3 separate regions of the Homo sapiens genome follow, and all the other regions are linked to region 1. The links are contacts of gene promoters, found by promoter capture Hi-C in blood cells and fetal thymus (Javierre and others, 2016). All regions are on one chromosome and are shown on one strand. Each heading gives the region's core, a stretch centred on a gene start or on the middle of the fragment in contact. The rest is flanking DNA. Distances are from core to core; before and after follow the strand shown. Region 1 holds the start of DNAAF11 (dynein axonemal assembly factor 11). Region 2 holds the start of NCRNA00250 (non-protein coding RNA 250). Region 3 overlaps LOC124902072 (a long non-coding RNA gene).

Evidence for each region. Contacts are between HindIII fragments. The CHiCAGO score rates a contact against its expected background, and 5 or more counts as called.
Region 2: a contact is called between a fragment that was not itself captured here and the fragment with the promoter of DNAAF11 in region 1, in 1 of 17 cell types (total CD8 T cells). The highest score is 5.7, in total CD8 T cells.
Region 3: a fragment that was not itself captured here is called in contact with the fragment with the promoter of DNAAF11 in region 1 in 1 of 17 cell types (monocytes); the score reaches 5.9 in monocytes.

What each region holds. Positions count from the first base shown.
Region 1 is chr8:132,673,881-132,677,603 of GRCh38, reverse strand. DNAAF11 (dynein axonemal assembly factor 11) reads left to right here and starts at 2,059. Exons shown (of 12, transcript NM_012472.6): 1 at 2,059-2,120. The coding sequence starts at 2,111. LOC105375767 (a long non-coding RNA gene) reads right to left here and starts at 1,974. Exons shown (of 2, transcript XR_928665.4): 1 at 1,799-1,974; 2 at 1,546-1,712. The HindIII fragment of the contact is 7,589 bases long and covers 1,593-3,723 here.
Region 2 is chr8:134,834,472-134,838,194 of GRCh38, reverse strand. It overlaps NCRNA00250 (non-protein coding RNA 250), which reads right to left and starts at 126. Exons shown (of 3, transcript NR_126028.1): 1 at 1-126. The HindIII fragment of the contact is 273 bases long and covers 1,481-1,753 here.
Region 3 is chr8:134,722,408-134,726,130 of GRCh38, reverse strand. LOC124902072 (a long non-coding RNA gene) reads right to left here. Exons shown (of 2, transcript XR_007061187.1): 2 at 2,221-2,679. It also overlaps a transcript of ZFAT not described here. Among named protein-coding and RNA genes, the nearest start is that of ZFAT, 11 kb to the right of the region's middle. The HindIII fragment of the contact is 7,755 bases long and covers 1-3,723 here.

The sequences.
Region 1 (3,723 bases), core at 810-3,309:
CAGTTTCTTTTTTTAAGTCAACAGTGAGTAGGTCTGAGAGTGAGGATAGAAGCTTAGAGCCAACATGTCAAATACCTGGGTTGCAATTGCTCTTGAGAACTTTCTGCGGTTCTGGAGTGGCTCCCTTTGTCTCCTGATCCAGAGGCTGAGATCCTTTATTATTTTTTTTTAATTTTTATTAAGAGACATCGTTTCTTTGTGTCACCTAGGCTAGAGAGCAATGGCACAATCCTAGTTCACTGCAAGCTGAGATCCTTTATAGTAGGCCTGACCTCATGCTTTTGTCAGCTTAGAAACTAATCTTTCTGCCCAGTAGTAGCTTCCTTCTAGAAGCTAGATCCTTTTTAGCCTTGATGAACCCCTTGTTGTTAAAATGCACAATTCAAGCACAGGCGAATTTGCTAAACTTGCCTGCTGCTAATAGCATTTCATCTCCTTTGTGAGTAATCAGACATCAGTGCTCAGTGTCACGTGTCAGTGTCAGCGTGTCAGTGGCACGACCACAGATGTTTACCCATATTGTCATCATCATGTGGAAATAGAGAAGTTTCAGCTTTCAAAGGTGAAGTCATCTGTCTGATGCCACACAGTAATAAATCTGTGTATTTAATCTATGTTTCCAATGCCAGAGCTAATACTGTTCACCTCACACTAACCTGCTTTCAGAAAAATAATAGTGGATGTCAGGTAAGTTTATAGTTTGAGTGCCTTTTGGGAGGCCTCCTTGGAAATCCAAATATTCAGGGAAATAGTGCCTGAAATCCCACTCTTCCAGTTCAGTTCCTTTGGCCTGGCATTTAAGGCCCCCATTACCCCCGATCTAATCTCTCATTCTTACTGTTCGAAGATCCCTTCTATCTAGCTCTCTTTATTGCCAAACTGATGTTTCTGCTTCCCCCCATCACCTCACTCTGTTAGACTTTCCTGCCTCTCTGTCCAAGTTCATGACCTTGTCTCTACCTGGCAAACTCTAATAATTGCCAGCTGTAAATGCTTAACAGCTATTCGCTAGAAAAATTAATTTCTTTGCACTCAGCATTGCTCTAGGAATCTTCTTTTAAAATGCAAACATAATACACACATCAAGATAAGAAGCACGCACTCCATACTGTTTAAAACGACTGGGATGGGAGAAGGTTTTACCTTTTACATATTGCCCCCCTCCTTTTTCTGCAAATGGAGTAAAGAATAATAATTACTTTCATAATAATGGTACCTTTTAAAGATTCTTGGGAAGCTAACGCATTAAAGTGCTAACACTAAGATCTGAGGGTGAATGAGCTTGCTGATGTGCTTCCTAGTTTAGAATGGGAGAAGGCGCGTTGCACACTTTTGGAGAAGGGTCTGGGGAAACGTGAGGGGAGTGTGGGGCTGTAGGAGATATACTTCCTACATTTTACAATTAAGAGAGTGGAGAATAGGGAAATTGATGGAGGGGGTAATGGGTGGCGTTTCTGGAAAGCTTGTTAGCCGGAAACGAGTGTTGGAGAGTGACTTTAAAAAGCTGGAATATGACAACGACAACGAATCTTTATAGTGAGCCTGTTGTTTTCATAGTGTCTTTCATTCACTCAAATTATCTAATTAAAGCTTCACAGTGATCCTCTTAGGTTATTTCTCATCTTACAGATGTGCAAACTGAGGAGAAGGAAGTGTAAGGTCACGCCGCTGGTAGAGTTGGGGGCCAAATCCAGATCTGTTGGCTCTGGAAGCTGTAAATCAAACACAAAAAGGAAAAAGTCAAAGGCGGTCTGGAAGGCAAGCCTGGAAGGCACAGAAAAGAGAAGCGTCCTCATACTTTGTTCACTCTAAACCATTGATTCAGGGAGAGGGAAGCAGTCTGTGGCAAGTCGGAAGTGCGACGAGGACGAAGACTGGGTTTGGGTTGGGGAACCCCTGTCTGCTGAGCCCCTTCACTGCGGTCTCCTCTGCTTGCTCCGCGGAGCTCAGGAAACGCGGCTTGTTTTGGTCCCGCGCGGCCGCCGTAGAGTCCCCGTTGCCATGGCTCCTGAATTCCGACGGGGACGCGCTGAGGAGCAGGGGTGAAGGGTGAAAAGCGTCATTCGAGGTCCGGGTCCGGCTTGCGGGGTCAGCGAACTGGAGAGGCGCCATGGGCTGGAGTAAGCCCCCCTCCACCTTCCGTCCTCGATCGTTCCCCTTGTGGAAGTAGTCCCGGGTCTCGTGGGATCCTCGCCGCCCGCTCCCGCCCTGCGCTGTCGGTTCCCCCGCGCCTGGGCGGACCCTAACCCCACCCGGCCCTCCGCACCGCAGCCCCGGCTGCACCAGGTCCTCTGCAGACTGGCCGGACAGCCTGGCCTTTTCCAGCTCAGGTTCCTAATCTGTAAAATGGGCGGGGCCGTGGGAAGGGGAGGAAGAGGCAGAAAGGCACTGGACTCCAGGAAAGGGGTCGGGGAACGTGCAGGGGTTTTGGCGCCAGACACACCACGTTCCGGCCAAGTGGCTCCTTACTGGCTGTGAACGTGGGCCAGTCACTGTCTCCAAGCCGCAATCTTCGGACTCATTCCGGAAGGCAGTGTAGCCTAATGGTGGAGGGTTCCGACTCTGGAGCCAGGGTTGAAGTCCTCCCTCTTCCTGTGACTTTGAGCGAGTGACTTCACCCCTTGGGCCTCAGCTTCTTCATCTCCAAAATAATGGCAATCATACTACTGTTTTAGACACAGTAAGTGTTATAAACGTGTTTTTGTTTGTTTGTTTGAGACAAGAGTTTTGCTCTGTCGCCCAGGCTGGAGTGCAGCGGCGCGATCTCGGCCCACTGCAGCCTCCGCCTCCCGGGTTCAAGCAATTCTCCTGCCTCAGCCACCTGAGTAGCTGGGATTACAGCGTGCACCACCACGCCAGGCTAATTTTTGTATTCTTAGTAGAGACGGGGTTTTGCCATGTTGGCCAGGCTGGTCTCGAACTCCTGACCTCAGGTGATCCGCCCGCCTCGGCCTCTCAAAGTGCTGCGATTACAGGCGTGAGCCACTGCGCCCGGTAGTAAACGTGTTTCTTTAAGAATATACTAACAAACTGCAAGGTGATGCGGGTAAGTTATTTATATTGTATGAACCATTTTGATATCGACAACGTTTTTGAGCTCCCCATATGGCAGTTTTGTACAGCTCTACCTAATTGATCACTTATCATTGTAAAAATGTCATAATTAACTTTTTTTAAATCAAGAGACTGCTCCAGATGATGGGCTTTCTGCCCTGGAAGACCTGACAGCCTGCAAGTGGGAGAGGTGGGGGTCGGGGGGGAGTGATTTGTAAATGTTGAAACTCCTTTCCTAAATCAGCTACTGATATTTCTTCCTCTCTTCTCAGGGCTGTCTCCCCATCCCCTGGTCTCACCCTAGTTGGTTTTTTTCTTCTTCTCCTTCTCCTCCTCCTCCTTCTCCTCCTCCTTCTCCTCCTCCTCCTTCTCCTCCTCCTCCTTCTCCTTCTCCTCCTCCTCTTCCTCCTCCTTCTCCTCCTCCTCCTCCTCCTCCTGCTCCTCCTCCTCCTGCTCCTCCTCCTCCTGCTCCTCCTCCTCCTGCTCCTCCTCCTCCTGCTCCTTCTGCTCCTGCTCCTCCTGCTCCTTCTCCTCCTTCTCCTTCTCCTTCTTCTTCGCTTTTTTATGTCGGGAATTTTCCTTTGCCCTCTTTCTCTGAGTCGTGCCCACTTTGATTTGTTAAATCATTAACTTGTCAGACTTGCATCGGAGTGTCTACCTTGAATCAGG
Region 2 (3,723 bases), core at 368-2,867, 2.2 Mb before region 1:
GACCCTGCATTGCATCTCAGCGAGAACGGAAAGCTCACTCAGCATGCTGCAGTCTTTCATACTGATTTTGACATAAAACATCAGGCGGAAATTCCACTTCTGACTCTGCAGTAATTGTGGAGGAGCCAGAGGGCCATCCAAACACAGATGTCTGGCATGACGCTGCACACCTCACGAGGTCACAGGACAGACATTGCAGAGAGATCGTGATGATCATGCATAAAGGAGAGCCCACCATCTTCAGGGCGCAACTCATTCATTCTTCCTCCTTCATTGTTCCGGAGTTACTGTGAATAGTCAAGATTATTGTTTCAGACTTTTTCCAATGTCTTGACTTACAATGGCGAGAAAGATGTTGATGCTGGTAATAATAGTAAAAATGGTGAAAGTTTTTCCAGAGTTTCAAATGATGGAACTCTGCATCCTACTATTGTGTAGCATGTGTGAGTACGTGTGTGTGTGTGTGTGTGTATGTGAGTACGTGAGTGTCTGTGTGATTCAACATATGTATGTGTGTATTGATTCCTCCTGAGTAGCCCCCCCCAACCCTTTTTTTTTTTAACTAAGTATGTCAGCTTCTGGAACTGCACATAACAGTTTTCCAGCAGTGACACTCATGCATAGCACAGCCATCAAAGACCTGGAAGCCATGTAATACAGCTGACCTTTGAACTAGGGGAACAACCCCTGTATGCGCAGTCAAAACTCCCAAGCATAACTTTTGAATCCCCAAAAACATAACCATTAGTAGCCTACTGTTAACCAGAAGCCTTACTGATAACATAAACAGTCGATTAACCCATATTTTGTTATATGTATTATATACTGTGTTCTTATAATAAAGTAAGCCAGAGAAAATAACATTAATGAAAAAATCGTAAGGAAGAGAAAATATATTTCCTCTTCATTAAGTGGAAGTGGATCATCATAAAGCTCTCCATCCTCATCATCTTCATGTTGAGTAGGATGAGGAAGAGGAGAAAGAGGAGAGGTTGGTTGTACTGTCAGCAATGGCAGAGGCAGAAGAAAATCCAAGTATAGCAGCTCAACGAAGTTCAAACCGGGTGGTTCAAGGGTCAACTGTAAAGACTACTAGAGGCAGAGGCTCACTTAATTGCATGTTCAGAAATTAAGAGTTTAACATTATTAGAATATGCAAAGGCATACAGAGTGACATAATGGACTTTATATCACTTTATATCATTTATATATAATGGACTCAGAAGCAAGAGGGTGGGAGTGGGGAGCCAGGGATAAAAACACTACACATTAGGTACAATGTACACTACTTGGGTGATGGGAGCACTGAAATCTCAGAATTCATCACTATATAACTCATCCATGTAGCCAAAAATGACTTGTATCCTAAAAGCTATTGAAAAAAAAGAATTTAAAATTGTTAGTATGAGCAGCTCCACAAATTTGGGGTGCAAATATGGTCATATTATTTACTTTTCCAATTAATTCATTGAGTAAAGCTTGCTGCTATAACAACAACAAACAAACAAATTTTCAGTTATTTCTCGCTCATATAACCATCTAAATTAGATGTTTCTGGTTGGAGGGCAGCTTTCCTCTACAGAATGATCCAGGGCTCAAAGCATAATTATACTCTTTTCTGGCCAGTGGGGTCTTGCACCCACTCTACTAAGGTAGCTTTCCCTAGGGCTCCCAGGAGACTCCTAACAAAGCCAACTTAACTTTCTGTTACCTCTTCTGATAACGCCAGGAGGAAAAAAATTATGTAAAAGCTTTATATTCACTGAGGCATCCTACTATATTGAATTGTCTGAAATGAAAGAACATTTCATCTCCAGATTTTAATAGATGATTGTCTATGAAATAAAGAGGATTTAGAGGCCAGGCACGGTGGGTCATGCCTGTAATACCAGCACTTTGGGAGGCTGAGGCAGGCAAATCACTTGAGGTCAAGAGTTCGAGACCAGCATGGCCAACATGGTGAAACCCCATCTCTACTAAAAATACAAAATTAACCAGACATGGTGGCAGGCACCTGTAATCCCAGCTACTCAGGAGGCTGAGGTAGGAGAAGTGCTTGAACCCTGGAGGTGGAGGTGGCAGTGAGCCGAGATCGTGCCACTACACTCCAGCCTGGGCAACAGAGCCAGATTCCATCTCTAAAAAAGAGGATATAGAGGACATCTTCATATTATAAAATGGCATAAACTGAAAAAAACATAAACATAAGCTGATATTTTAAAGAAATCAGTTAATGGTGTTTCTAAGATTTGTAGTTGGTGCTCAATACATTTATAGAACCAGGCTTTTGAATCATGCCTGAAACTTAGCAGCTCAATTGTCATTTTTTAGAATAAATGAATGGTAATGACATCAGTCTAATAAGCATTTTGAAACATGCGCAAATCTTTAGATATAAAATTTGTACATTAAAATAAGTTTTTGAGATGACAATTGGTAGATATCCCACAAATGTTTATTTCTATTATCGAAGATATCATCAGGATAATTTAGATTGCCAAAGTAGACAGAGACATGCCATGTACATGTCACTCAGGACTGCTACATATGTTCATAGAGGTTGAGCACTGCACAGTCCCAGAGGATGCCATTCACAGACTCCCATGCAAATAGCTTCCCTGGGTTTGTGCAGTGCATACTGTGCATGCAGCTGCCTAATTTGAATACATCAGTCCTAACAGGCCGTAAGGGTAGTGCAGCTGATTCACCTTGTTCATCACCAGGACTGATTGAGCTGGTCTGGCTGAGTACTGCGTTCTCACTTCATGTCCCCACTGCTTCCTCGTTTACCACCTCCTCCCACAAGCTTACGTTCTCGGAAAGATATTGGCCTTCCCTGATAGAAGCACCCTCCTGTCAAGGATGTGCTTATAACCTCACCTGAGCCCATGCACACTCCAGAGGACCCTCAGTAATCCTGGAGCAGGAGAGCCCCTAAAATGGGAACTGAATGTTCTTTCTCTCTTAGTAATAAGGTACTTAAACACACACACACAGTGGCATTTTTTTTAATCCAACTTTTTGAGGATTGCCTATTAAATACCAAGAGACATCTTAGCTCTCTGTTAATTCACAATGTCACTAATTCAAAGATGTTCTCATTGTTTAGCCTCCAAAAAAAGCCTTAGATGGGTCCTTCAGATCCCAATGGCCAATTTTAAACATCTTATCCTTATATGTTCAATATTTATATTTTAAAACATAAAATGTAAGTTCTAAGTCTGTCTATAGAGTCTGGGGTGTGTTGGAAGTTGGGATAGATGGGCCTAAGATGAAGCAAAAAGACCAGTTAGGAAGCAGGTTTTGGTAAGAGTCCAGGTGAGAGATACAAGGGGTTACCCTAAGGTAGTGACCAAGGGCGTGGAAGACAGTTAATCGCTCTCACTACCATTTAAGAGGAAGACTTTATGGGACTTGAAGACTGACAAATAAAGATAAGGATAAACTGCAAATAACTTCAAGATCATGCTACTGGGCATTTGCTCGTGCCATAGTATGACGAGGGATGAAAGGACTAGGTATGGTGAGGACTTGCACATGGAGAGAGTTAAACAGCATATCAAGAGGGGAACAATACTGGATGCAAGCATACCACCAGGCTTTCCATTTTTGTGCCAAATTAGACAAAGGGACAAATAGTACAAGTTCAAAGTAAGCAAACGCTGTTTGATTTCAAAATTCCTCTTTGAGCAACATCACTTACCTACCTTGGAGTAATCTGTC
Region 3 (3,723 bases), core at 586-3,085, 2.0 Mb before region 1:
GTTGCTGCGGACCCATATGAATTCCCCACTGTTAACAATTCCAGACCCCATGAAAGGAGGACTCTTGTCTGTTTCACTCACATTGTACCCACAGAGCCTAGGCAGTGCCTGGCACAACATGGGTCTTAAAGGAGAAGAATGAATTAATGGAATAAGTTAATGGAATAAGTCCACTAATTAATTCATTGATAGAATGAATGAATGAATTGAACGGATTAATGAACAGTTGACCGCCACACGGTAATTACTGAGTCCTGGCTCTCTGCTTCTTTCCCAACCCAGCCTGGCTTCACAGTGGTGAGCTGAAGGCAGAGCTTTTCCTGTTTATATGTGCATAGGACCAATGACTTAATTAACTTACCAAAAAGGGCTCTGGTTTGCCCATGCCACTTTCTTTAACTCCTATCTAGTTGCTTCGTTCATTCAATATGTATGGGAGGCCCACTTGATACAGTTTGGCTCTGTGTCCCCATCCAAATCTCACGTTGAATTGTAATCGCCAGTGTTGAGGGTGGGACCTGATGGGAGGTGATTAGATCGTGGCGGTGGATCCTTTGTGAATGGTTTGGCACCATACCTTTGCTGCTGTTCTTGTGATAGAGTTCTCATGAGATCTGGCTGTAGAAAAGCGTGTAGCACCTCTCCCCGTCCCTCTCTTGCTCCTACGCTGGCCATGTAATATGTGCCCATTCCCCCTTCATCTCCTGCCATGATTGTAAGTTTCCTGAGGCTTCCCCAGAAGCTGAGCAGATGCCAGTGCTATGCTTCCTGAACAGCCTGTGGAACCATGAGCCAATTCATCCTCTTTATAAATGGCCGAGTCTCAGATATTTCTTGAAAGCCGTCTGAGATCAGACTAATACACCACTCTTTGCCAGGCGCTTGAACTTGTGCCCTGAGGCAGCTTACAGTTCTGAGGGAGAAAGTAGTTAAACGAGCCATAACGATATGTGGGATGGGGCGGTACAGTGTGCCCAGGAAACGGGCAGGAAGGATGGTAGCCTTAATCTGCAGGGTTGGGGAAGCCTTCTCTGTGGAGGTTACCTCCAGCCCAGAGAGCTGGAGGGAGATCTGCAAAGAGGAGCAGGGGTAGGAGCAGATGGGGGGCTGTTTTCTCAAGCAAGGCCCCAGGGAGGGGCTTTAAAGAACCTGCAGAGGTGCAACTGCAACTGAGCTTGCGGTGGAGAGCACAGGTGGAGAGGTGAGCTTGGTTGCCAAGGACTTCCATGGGTGAGAACTGCTTGGACTTCAGTTCGCAAAGGGAGAAGCGCTTTAACTGGGGAGTGTGGGGTGAATTCCCCCACAGCCCATGGTAATCTTGACTCTGTAAGGGGAAGGGAGGCGAGTTTCTCCCCCTTGCTATAGACAGCTCCCCTTTGAGAGCTTCTAGCCTGCACTGTGTAACTTGACTGGCAGGTAACGTAACTGATAGAATGATACCCAGGGCAGGCTAAAGAGGTTCTGGGACTTTAAGTGACGAAACCAGGAAAGGCCCAGACCACCCGAGACCAGTTGGCCACCTACCAGCAGGGCTGCTGTTCAACCCATATACATGAGTTATGGCCATGGTGGTTATTATACTAACGAAATCTTTCCCTATTTAGTGATTTAGTAAATAGCACCTCTTTAAGCCCTGGCCCTGTGTCCCCATACTCTTGGCAGTATAGCCCACTGGCCCCAAACTCCTAGGACCTTCTTTCTCAGCTTCTAAAATTAAAGGAGTAACCCCTGGCACATCAGGGGCATGCGTTCTTTCTGATTAGCCAGTGTCCATGCTGTATCTATTGACAAATGTCACCCTGGGTCACCTGTGTTCCATTGTCCTTCCTTCTGCTATGCCTTGACTGGGCTTGGAGCTCACTGCATCTCCCTGCCTCTCAAGATGCCTACCCAATAATTTACAGGGCAGCTGCCATCACCCTCCAAGATGGTGACCAATGCACAGTCCCAAAGTTTCTTTACATGTCCACCCTCTGGAGTTCCTATGCAGATGGCACCTGAGCCTGCTTATAGAAACTGGCATAAGATTCTGCATCAAGAGATGCCCACCAAATGCCACCCCTGACTCCTAAGAATGGAAGTGAATCAAGTCTAGCTCTAAAGTGTAAAAGCAGCTGCGTAGGTTTTTGTCCACGTAGATAGCTTGAGGCAGCATAATGAAAGAAACTAATCCATCACCTCTTTTATGTGAGACATTGTTTTTAAACAATAGGCAATATATGAGATTTCCATGGACACTTTATTTTCAGGGTTATCAGTTTTCTCTCAGCTGTTACAGCAGCATTTCTCTCTGAGCCAGTTACTGCGGGAACTTCATAAATGTGCTTCTGAAGAAGGGTTCTGCTTGTCCACCCTGTTACAGGTTGAAATGTGTGTTCGTCAAGTTGTTCCTCATGCAGGAGGTTAGGGAGGTGACTGATCCCAGAGGCTCAGCCCCCCATGGTCCCAGTACAGTGAAGGGGTCCTCAAGGGGTGTCTTCAGGTTGGCTTCAGACAAGGGGAGACTCTGGCAGGAAACCAGGAGGGCAGGAGCGGAGTACGGTCTGGGCATTTATTCCTCAGTCTCCTTCTCTAAGTCGCAGAGTATTGGTGGTCCGTCTTGCTGAAGGTGGACTCCTCTGCACAGGCCCTGTCCTGGCCCTGGGTTCCAGCGGGCACTCCCTCCGCATGCCTGCAGGCCTGGGGTGAGGCGAGGTTGCAGAAGGGCTGCATCATTCCTCTCTGACCTCCCAAAACCCTGCCCACACCTTTGTAAAGAGCCCCTTCATTAAATGCTCCTCCAATTGCCCAGCTTGAGGATGCCCTCTGCCTCCCGCTGGAGGCCTGGCTGCCAAGGAGCTGAGGTGGAGCGATGTGATAAGAGGGAGGTCCCAGGCGATCCTGGGGGATGGGGATGCTGACAGTGCTGCCTGCAGTCAGGCAGCTCACAGGAATCCCTGTTACTCCAGGGATTGGAGCAGTGTTCACGTCTGTTTCTCAAGGCCTGTGTACTATTTTTCTGTGACTGCTGTAACGAATACCACAGACTGGGTGGCTTAAGCAACAGGAATTTATGTCCTCACCATTCTGGTGGCTAGAAGTCCAAGATCAAGGTGTCAGCAGGGTTGGGTTCATTCTGAGGCCTCTCTTGTAGAAGGTGGCTCGTAGATGGCCACCTTTTCTCTGTGTCTTCTGTGTGTCTCTGTCCTAATTTCCACTTTTGGAATATGACCCTGGCCATGTTGGATTAGAGTCCACTCATGACCTCCCTTTACCTTAATAACCTCTTTAAAGGCCCTTTCTCCAAATGCAGTCACATTTGGAAGTATTGGGGGTCAGGATTTCAACATACGAGTTAAGGGGGGCACAGTTCAGTCAATAACACGTTGTAAGCCCCTCAAGGTCGAGGACAGTGTCCTTTGCAGCTCCATCTCCAGGTGCCTGATTCCTGCCCTGTCACTCAATGCTTATCCTGTGGTGTGACCTTAGACAACTCCCTCCCCTCCTCTGCTTCCTCATCTGCAAAGTGAGAGGTGGGCTCTCAGCATGTGCTTCAATGATTTTGAGACACTTGAGGTGACACCACGGATCGTTTCTTATTTGCCTTTTGGACCAGCTGTGCTACATCTCATGATCCAAGCAGCTGTCTTGGCAATGTAAGCTGCCAGTCACGAGGGCCTGGCCAGGTGAGAGCTTGTACACAGTCCTCTTTTGTCTTTGGTGGAGGCTGCCGGGAACAACTCA